Regions from separate parts of the Homo sapiens genome. Here all the other regions are linked to region 1. Evidence: promoter capture Hi-C in human tissues and cell types (Jung and others, 2019). All regions are on one chromosome and are shown on one strand. Each heading gives the region's core, a stretch centred on a gene start or on the middle of the fragment in contact. The rest is flanking DNA. Distances are from core to core; before and after follow the strand shown.

Evidence for each region. Contacts are between HindIII fragments. The study calls those that stand out against the background at their distance.
Region 2: a contact is called between a fragment that was not itself captured here and the fragment with the promoter of LDLRAD3 in region 1, in 1 of the 25 tissues and cell types used here (thymus).
Region 3: a contact is called between a fragment that was not itself captured here and the fragment with the promoter of LDLRAD3 in region 1, in 1 of the 25 tissues and cell types used here (H1 embryonic stem cells).

What each region holds. Positions count from the first base shown.
Region 1 is chr11:35,942,205-35,945,543 of GRCh38, reverse strand. LDLRAD3 (low density lipoprotein receptor class A domain containing 3) reads right to left here and starts at 1,482. Exons shown (of 6, transcript NM_174902.4): 1 at 1,400-1,482. The coding sequence starts at 1,445. RefSeq lists a silencer at 1,132-1,571. The HindIII fragment of the contact is 6,577 bases long and covers 1-3,339 here.
Region 2 is chr11:35,895,089-35,898,744 of GRCh38, reverse strand. No RefSeq gene overlaps it. Among named protein-coding and RNA genes, the nearest start is that of LDLRAD3, 47 kb to the left of the region's middle. The HindIII fragment of the contact is 6,200 bases long and covers 1-3,656 here.
Region 3 is chr11:35,986,396-35,989,630 of GRCh38, reverse strand. The region is part of intron 1 of LDLRAD3 (low density lipoprotein receptor class A domain containing 3); the gene reads right to left. Among named protein-coding and RNA genes, the nearest start is that of MIR3973, 22 kb to the left of the region's middle. RefSeq lists an enhancer at 2,440-2,941. The HindIII fragment of the contact is 9,428 bases long and covers 1-3,235 here.

The sequences.
Region 1 (3,339 bases), core at 233-2,732:
GTGAGAACTCTCTCCCCAGGTGGACTAATTTAAGGGCACTCTCACCCAGACCTGGTTAAAAATCCACAGCAGTCACCAGGAGGTCTAGTCCCTCCCTGGAAGCCCAGCAAACCCATAAGCATCTAAATGGGGTATCAGAGGAGTGGAGATGATGTCATGGGTCTGAGAGCAGGAAAGGCTGCCCAGTGGGCTGTGAGGATGCCCAGGACCAGGGACATCAAGGAAGAGAGGAGATATCCCTTTAACGCATTCATAACTCCAAGGCACAGCTAAGAATGAAGTGAGCCTCAACTTAGCAAACCCACAGGCCACCAAAGACACCTCGACAGCCAAGCTGCTAGAAGCACTTGGCAAAATAGGGCAGCTATTGGACATGTGGATGGCACAAACACCAGGCAGGCAAGATTCTGCTGAAGAAAGTTCACTGGGCCCTGTCACCCACATTCTAGGCATCAGATGCCCAGAAATAAACGTCAAGGGGCCAAGGGCGGGCCCAGTCCAGGAGGGACAGCTGACAGCTGTGGGCGGCGGGCAGGGGCAGAGGAGGAAGGGCTCCCAGGCTGGAATTCGGATCATGCCCACATCAGCAGAAAAGTTCCTGGGAACAGCACGCTGTCTGGAAGGGAAAGAGGCTTGCTGCGGTCCAGGCCCCGGGATGCACACGCGGTGGTGATGCCAGGTTCAAAGGGCCGCCGGATGAAGCCCCGTGTCCTCTCCCAGGGCCCCTCGCCGGTCAGGGCGCCCATCGCGGGGCAAGTAGGGTGGTCAGACGTCTTAAATAAAGCTTCGGTTCCCAGGATCAGTGGGGAAAAATGAATTCCCAGATCCGGCCTTGCTTCAACTCACTTTACCCAAACCAAACAGTCCCAGAGAGGAATGAAAGGAAGCAGCTTTGCTACTCCCTCCGCGGTGCAGGTGGGGAAACTGAGGCACGGAGTGCACGCCAGAGACTCGGGAAGAGGCCCAGAGGAGGCTAACGCAGCCGCGCGCGACCAGGCGTCTGGGAAGATGAGACCAGGGAAGAGTTCTCTCCTCTCCTCTCCTTTCCTTTCCCCGCCTCCGTTCCTCAACACACACAACACACACACAGCCACACTCGAGCTACGCCCAATCGGGGCAGCCGCCGGGCTCCCCAGACCCGGACTGCACACAGAGCCCCGCCCGCGCACACAGCACAACACGACCCGGCGCGCACGCCCACACAATAGGACGGCTCGCACCCCGCGGCGGCCCCTCGGCAGGGTCCGGGCCAGCCCGGCGCCGGGGTCCGCCCTCCGCGCTCACCCACGCCCGGAGAGCGGCCCGCGCCCGGGAGAGGACGCGATCGCACCCGGCCGCTGCGCCCCGCGCCCCGCGCCCCGCGCCCCGCGGGAAGTTCGCCGGCCGCCCCCCGACTCACCCGCGGCGCTGCTCAGCAGCAGGCACAGCGGCCCCAGCAGCCACATGGCGCGGCCGCCGCTCCCGCTGCCCGGCGTCGTTGCTGCCCCCGCGGCCTCGGCGCTGACCCCGCCCCTCGCCGCGCCGTCCCCGCCCTCCCGCCTGGCCCTCCTCCCTCCCGCCTTCCCCGGGCCCGGCCCCGGCCCGGCTCCGCTAAGTTTTGCAAGCGCCTGGGCTGCGCGTGGCCACCCGCATGTTACCCTGGGTGTCCTGACTCCGAGGGGCCGCCGAGCGCGGCGGAGGGTTCAGCCTTTCGGTCTCTCAGCCTTTCAGCCTCCCAGGTCTGGCCGCGAGGATCTTCTAACAGCCTGGGCTCTGTTCTCTGCTTCCTTTTGTCCCTCTCATTTCTGCCTTTGCTTCCACACCCAGCGAGATGCAGCGCCCAGACCAAAACTTGAGTTCTTTACTCAAACTACAAAGTGAGTTTACTACCGAGAGAGAAAAAGTTAAAATAAAGGGTCAAATCTTATGAGAAAATTGTAGTATATTTTTAGTAGCGAGTGTGGAATACCAGTGCTTCTCAAACTTTAATATGCATCCGGCACACTTGACGATCTTGTTAAAATACTGACTCTGGTTCAGTAGATCTGGCGTGGAGCCTGAGATTCTGCATTTTTAACAACATGGTGGCTGATTCCAAGGCTGATGATCCGGGAGCCACCGGTAAGAGCAGCTGACACCTACCATGCACACAGCGTGGACCACATGAGTTATTTTGTCTGCATAGTGTCCACCTTGACCTGTTGAACGTTTGGGACCCAATTTGGAAAAAATAAAATTAAAAAAAGGAAAAGGTCATGAAAGGCAGATACCCAAATGCAAAAAATATAGCTGCACCAATGCACTTGCTTCCAGAGGGCACTGGTGAAAAGCCCCAAAAGACTTAGATGGTGGAAGAAGGGGATGACACTTCTGTGCTCCACTCTCTCTGATCCCCCACCCAAAAAAAGCAAAAGACTAACGCAAATAATTGCCAAAAACTGGAAACAACTCAAGTGTCCATCAATTGATAAATGGATCAATAAATTAAAACTTTTGGGGGCAGTGGGACTGTTCTAATCTTGATTATAGAGGTAGTTACACAACTGTATACATTTGTCAAAACAATAGAACTGCATCCCTAAAATCCACCCCTCAAAAGGGTTGAGTTTATTTACACAAACTCCACCTGGCTGAAAGAAAGGGGAAGGTATGGGTACAGGGGCAGTTATAAAAGGGATGCCTGCGTCAGATTTTGGGATGCCCTGGAGACACCCTCAAGGGTGTTAAGATTCAATTACTTTACTCTGTAATTGCGTGCTGTAGTCTGGAAACATAAAGGCTAAAAAGGATCAGGTCAAAATTTAAAAATACCAATGATTGTTCAAGGTAATGAGAAAATGTGATGTGAGGGAGGAAAGGTTAAGTTCCATAGTTCATAGTACACATGGAAAATATAAATCAATTATCTAAATGATTTGGCATTCGGGGCTTTTATCCTGGGATTGATGAATATTATGGAGATCGTCCCATGGGCTTCAAAGAATTTTAAAGCCCTTAAAATTTTATGCAAAATGTCCTGTGCATGTGGGTATGTGCATTGTTCCGGGAAGCTTGTTGGGAAGAGGCCTCCTGCCTTTGATAATAATATCTGAGGAGGCAAATAAGCAAATAATTTCTCCTACAGCTGCTCATTTGCCTCCAAACATTAGGGATACGGAAAGATAATGCAACTGACCCACTGCTATAGTTCTTATTTCCTTAGGTTTCTTTGGACACATCAACTTCCTTACTTTGCAAGTTTGACTCTGACTCTCTCTCTCGTTCTCTCTCTCTCACATACACACAGGCACACACACTTTTAAATATAAATATATTAATGTCTTTGAAATCATTTGGACTAATGTAAAACCTTATTTAAGG
Region 2 (3,656 bases), core at 917-3,416, 47 kb after region 1:
TGAGGCAGGCAGATTGCTTGAGCCCAAGGTTCAAGACCAGCCTGGGCAACATGTGAAACCCCATCTCTACAAAAATTACTAAAATTAGCCAGGCATGGTGGCGTGCACCTGTAGTCCCAGTTTCTTGGGAGACTGAGGTGGGATAATTGCTTGAGCCCAGGAGGCTGAGGCTGCAGTGAGCTGTGTTCATGCCACTGCATTCCAGCCTCAGCAACAGAGCAAGACCTTGTTTCAGTAACAAAAAAAAGAAAAAGAAAAAAGAAAGAAAAAAATTTAGATGTGTTATACCTTTTTAGTGGATTAATCCGTTTCTCATTGTAAGATGTCCTTCTTTATCTTTAGTAATGCTTATTACATTAAAGTTTACTTTTTCTGAACAGATGTGGTGGCTCACATCTGTAATCCCAGCACTTTGGGAGGCCAAGGCAAGAGGATAGCTTGAGGCCAGGAGTTTGAAACCAGCCTAGGCAATATAGTGAGATCTCATATCTACAAAAAATAAAAATTAGCCAGGCATGGTGGCATGCATCTGTAGTCCCAGCTACTTGGGAGGCTGGGGTTGCGGGGATGGCTTGAGCCCAGGAGGTCCAGGTTGTAGTAAGTCACAATCTTGCCACTGCACTTTAGCCTGTGCAACATAGTGAGACCTCATCTCAAAAAAAAAAAAAAGTTTACTTTTTCTGATACGTGACTATATATTATCCTTATTTTTCCTAATGCTTATATGGCATATTTTTGCCAATTATTTATAGCCAGGCTTTCTATGCCCTTATATTTAAGATATGTTTCTTATAAGTAGCAAATAGTTGAGGATTTTTTAAAAATCCAATTAGACAATTTTTACATTTTAATTGTAGCACAGTCAATGTACATTCATGGAAATACTGAAATAATAACTTAGTTGGGTTTAAATCTATTGTATGATTTATCTTTTCTTTGTTCTATATTCCTTTTCCTCTCCTTTGTTGTCTTCTTTTGAATTGGTCAAGTTTTTTTTTTATCATTCCATATCCCCCTTCTATTGGCCTTTTAGGTATATATTCTTTTATCTCCTTTTTAAGTGATCACCTTAGAATTTATACCATGCATTCCTGATTTATAATAGTTTAGTATTAATTAGTACTTTTACTACTTCCTGGACAATGGAAGAACCTTAGAATACATTAACTCCACTTATCTCCCTCCGCCCGGGTGGGTTTTGGTAGGTAGTTATGAAGATAAACTAGTAGTCTGCTAGCTGAGAAGACATTGTAGGTACTTAAAACAGCAAGTCTGTGTGTAATGATCTCCTTTGCCCTCTCCAACACATTCTCTCCTGTTTCTGTGAGGCTGACCACTTGGATAACTGCATCACCAAGGTGGCTTTGTCCTCTCCCTTTCTGTTTTGTAGCTAGCGGGAGGGACTGGCAAGAGACTGCAAGATTAGAGCAGTTGGAATACTTATTCTCTCCTTCCCATCATCCCTGCCAGCCTGCCATGGTTCTGACTGCAGCTGCATCCTCCTACAGCTCCAACCTCACACAACCCCTTTCCCAAGATCTGACTCCTGCAAGAGTCTGGTCTGGAAGAAGCTGCAATAATATTCCACATCCACTAGCTGTCCAGTACACATATAATAAAACCCACATCCTCATTGTGATCTACAAGACGTTAGTTGATTTGGCCTCTGTCTGCTAATCGGACCTCGGCTGTACTTTCTCACTCATTTACTGCTTCTTTGTCAAATAGTCCTTTTTTACCCTGTTCAGAAAACATATCAAGTTCCCTCCAGTCTCTGGGCTTTTGCAATTGCTCTTTCCCTTCTTGGGCACATTTTCCTTCTCATCATCCAAGTTTCAGCTCAACAATCACATTCTTAGCGAAGGCTTTAATAGTAACTGTTTCTAAAGGGGCTTCCTTTTTCTGTTTCTCACGTATTACTGGAAGTTTGCCCCCTGTAGGACTTATTGCTGTCTGGAGAATTTTCTTTATTTATTTGTTGACTTCTGTATTATCTGCTTGCCTCCTCTACAATGTAGACAGAGGGAAACTTTGTCTGTCATATTCACCAGAGTATCTTTAGCACCTAGAAGAAACATAATAGATGCTTGATCAATATTTCTCGAATGAATGAATGAACTTATCTTTCTGTCTGGCTCCCAAACATCCCCCCCTCCTCATATATACATTCAATCCTTTATCACCCTGTATTAGGCCAATTCTTGCATTGCTATAAAGAAATACCCGAGACTGGGTAATTTATAAAGAAAAGAGGTTTAATTGGCTCATGATTCTGCAGGCTGTACAGGAAGCATAGTGGCATCTGCTTCTGGGGAGGCCTCAGGAAGCTTCCAATCATGACAGAAGGTGAAGGGGGTGCAGGTATGTCATATGGCGAAAGCAGAAGCAAGAGGCGGGGAGGTGCCACATACTTTTAAACAACCAGATCTTGCAAGAACCCCCTAACTATCACAAGCACAGCATCAAGGGATGGTGCCAAACCATTCATGAGAAATCCACTCCCATGACCAATCACCTTCCCCTAAGCCCAACCTCCAACACTAGGGAGTACAACTCAACATGAGATTTGGGTGGGGACACATATCCAAATGGTATCACATCCCCCATTTCTCACTCACCAACAAATGGGGACTTTTCCAGCAAAGACCATTAGGCTAATGACAACAAATGACTTACTTGGGGAAAGCTTCCTGTAGGAAGTGGCATCTGATGTGGTCTTCAAAGAGAGGCAGGGAACTTCTACATAGAGAATCATCCAGCAATGAATTCAAGTCTAAGAATACCAAAAACCAAACTGAACCAAAACAGAAAACAAAATTCTAGACCAAAATGTTTATTTTATTTTATATTTTGAGATAGAGTCTCACCCTGTTGCCCAGGCTGGCATGCAGTGGCACAATCTCAGCTCACTGCAACCTCTGCCTCCCAGGTTCAAGAAATTATCCTGCCTCAGCCTCGAGAGTAGCTAGGACTACAGGCACGTGCCACCATGTCTGGCTAATTTTTTTGTATCTTTAGTAGAGATGGAGTTTCGCCATGTTGGCCAGGCTGGTCTTGAATTCCTGGCCTCACATGATCCGCCCACCTTGCCCTTCCAAAGTGTTGGGATTACAGGCATGAGCCACCGCACCCAGCCCCAAAATATTTTTTTAAATGAAAACATTTAGATTTTGTTAGTTTTCTAGTGCTATATAACAACTTACCACACACTTCACAGCTTAATGGGGGCCAAAATTCTGTCTACCACAGACACAAACACGGAAAAACAAAACTGGCTTCTGGAAGGGACTGAAGAACCCTAAAGACAAGTCTAGTCTCCCAAGGATAAAAAAGCAACTACCATTTTGATTTTGGAGATAAGCCCTACCTTCTCTCTTTTTAGATGTTCATCAGCTTTTCAATGGAATCTGAAATTTAAAAATTTGTTATAAATTCTTATGAAGACATAATCTGAAATTTTACGTTAAACTGGTTAAAGGTAACCAGGATCTAATAATTTGTCAAAGAGGATGAATATGGGATGCTTTTCTTGAATGCCTGAAACTCTTCTTAATCCAGAGCTTCTCTAAGTGTGGCCAGATGGTGGCTTGGAAATACCCATTCAGCGAGGCATGGTGGTTCACGCCTGTAATCCCAGAACTTTGGGAGTCCGAGGC
Region 3 (3,235 bases), core at 221-2,720, 44 kb before region 1:
AACCAAGATATATTCCTTGGTTAGGAATACATATAACTAAGCAGGTGAAAGATCTCTATAAGGAGAATTACAAAACACTGCTGAAAGATATCATAGACACAAACAAACAAACAAAACCTTCCATGCTCATGGATTAGAATAATCAACATTGTTAAAATGGCCATACTGCCGAAAGCAATCTACAGATTCAATGCTAATCCTATCAAACTACCAATGTCATTTCCCACAGAATTAGAGAAAAGTAATTCTAAAATTCATATGGAACCAAAAAAGAGCCCAAAGAGCCAGAGCAATCCTAAGCAAAAAGAACAAAGGTGCAGGCATCACATTACTGGACTTCAAACTATACTATAGGGCTACACGAACCAAAACAGCATGGTAATGGTACAAAGACAGACACATAAACCAATGGAACAGAAGAGAGAACCCAGAAATAAACCTGCACACCTACAGCCATCTGATCTTTTACAAAGTCGACAAAAATAAACAATGGGGAAAGGACTTCCTATTCAGTAAACGGTGCTGGGATATCTGGCTAGCTATAAGCAGAAGAATGAAATTGAACACCCATCTTTCACTATATACAAAAATTAACTCAAGATAGAGATTTAAATATAAGACCACAAACTATAAGACTCCCAGAAGAAAACGTAGGAAATACTATTCTGGACATCAGTCTTGGCAAAGAATTTATAGCTAAGTCCTCAAAAGCAACTGCAACAAAAACAAAAATTGACAAGTGGGACCTGGCCAGGCATGGTGACTCACGCCTGTAATCCCAGCACTTTGGGAGGCCGAGGTGAGCAGATCAAGAGGTCAGGAGACCGAGATCATCCTGACAAACACAGTGAAACCCCAACTCTACTAAAAATACAAAAAATTAGTAGGGCATGGTGGCATGTGCCTGTAGAGCCAGCTACTTGGGAGGCTGGGGCAGGAGAATCGCTTGAACCCAGGAAGTGGAGGTTGCAATGGGCCAAGATCGCACCACTGCACTCCAGCCTGGGTGATAGAGCAAGACTCCAACTCAAAAACAAAAAAAAAATTGACAAGTGGGACCTAATTTAACTAAGGAGCTTCTACATAGCAAAAGAAACTATCAACAGAGTAAACAACCTATAGAATGAGAGAAAATATTCACAAACTATGCATCCCACAAATGTCTAATATCCAGAATCCATAAGGAACTTAATTCGAAAAGCAAAAATCAAATAACCTCATTAAAAAGTGGGCAAAAGACACGAACAGCCACTTCTCAAAAGAAGACATACAGCCAGGCACACTGGCTCATGCCTGTAATCTCAGCACTTTGGGAGGTTGAGGTGGGAGAATCACTTGAGCCCAGGAGTTCAAGACCAGCCTGGGCAACATAGTGAGACCCCATCTCTACAAAAAATAATTTAAAAATTAGCAGGCATAGTGGCGCATGCCTGTAGTCCCAGCTAATTGGGAGGCTAAGATGGGAGGATGGCTTGACCCGACGAGATTGAGACTGCAGTGAGTTGTGACCATGCCACTGCACTCCAGCCTGGGTGACAGAGTGAGACCATGTCTCAAAAAACAAACGAACAAAAAAGAAGGCATACAAGTGGCCAAGAAACATATTTTTAAAAATGTCATTAGAGAAATGCAAATCAAAACCATAATGAGATACTATCTCATACCCGTCAGAATGACTATTATTAAAAAGTCAAAAAACAACAGATGCTGGTGAGGCTGTGGAGCAAACGGAACGCTTATACACAGTTGATGGGAATGTAAACTAGTTCAGCCACTGTGAAAAGCAGTTTGGAGATTTCTCAAAGAGCTTAAAACAAAATTACCATTTGACTGACCCAGCAATCTCATTACCAGGTATATATATAAAAGAAAATAGATCATTCCACCAAAAAGACACATGCACTCGTATGTTCAACGTAGCACCATTCACAATAGCAAAGACATGGAATCAAACTAGGTGCCCATCAACAATGGATGGGATAAAGAAAATATGGTACATATACACCATGGACTACTACATACACAGCCATAAAAATAACAAAATCTTGTCCTCTGCAGCAACATGGATGCAGCTGGTGGCCATTATCCTAAGTGAATTCATGCAGGAACAGAAAACCAAATACCGTATGTTCTCATTTATAAGTGAGAGCTAAATATTGGGTATTCATGGACATAAACATGGCAACAACAGACACTGGAGACTGCTAGACAGAGGAGGAAGGGAGCAGGGCAAGGGCTGAAAAACTAAGTATTGGGTACTAAGCTCACTACCTGGGTGATGGGATCAATCATGCCCCAAACCCTAGCATCTTGCAATACCCTCATGTTACAAACCTGCACAGGTATCCCCTGTATCTAAAACAAAAGTTGAAATTATTCTTTAAAAAGATGATCCCTAAAAATATGCAGACTTCAGTAGTTTCTTGCCAGCAAGATATACAAATGTGTCATAACAAGATATACAAATGTGTCATAGCTGGTACTTGACCCACCTCCACCACAGGAGGCATGAATATTCTCTTTAGGCAGACAACTACATTAGCAAAATTCTAAGTGAAGCAGCCCCGTGAATGAGACGAATACTCAAACAGATTTTAAATGCCTCATTCATTCAACTCAACTAACCTTTGCTGAGTGCTGAGAAAAGTGTGAGGCAGACAGCCCGGTGTGAGAGATCTAGAGATACAGCCCTTGACTTTGAAGAGCTCAAGTCTTCATTTTCTCTAGTAAATGGGCCCAACACTACTCATGCCTGAGCTTTTACTCAGATTCAATGAACTAATTACCAAAAGGTGTGCTCTGCATCATCTGTGGCAGAGAGTGATACTCATCTGACAGTCCTCCCATTTCCCAGGTTAGGCAGGGCCACGTGACTAGTTTGGGTCAATGGAATGTGCAGAAAGGGGACATGTATCACTTTTAGGGTGAACAGAGGAGCTGGCAACAACAGGTCCTGCAATCTCTTCTCCTGCTGTGGCAATGTTGCAGACGGTGGAGTCTCAATCAGCCAGGAGAAAGTGACCAAGACAGGTAGAGCCCTCGCCCACTACTGCCATCCAATCTGCAGGGGCTTTTGTGTGAAAAATAGGCTTCTATGTGTTAAACTTTCCAGGAAGTTTGTTACCACAGCACAGACCTCTCCTACCCTGACTAACACATTATCTAACACATGTCCTTACATAAGCATATCACAATAAATAACAGGTTAAATTCCAAGATAAAACCACATTAATTC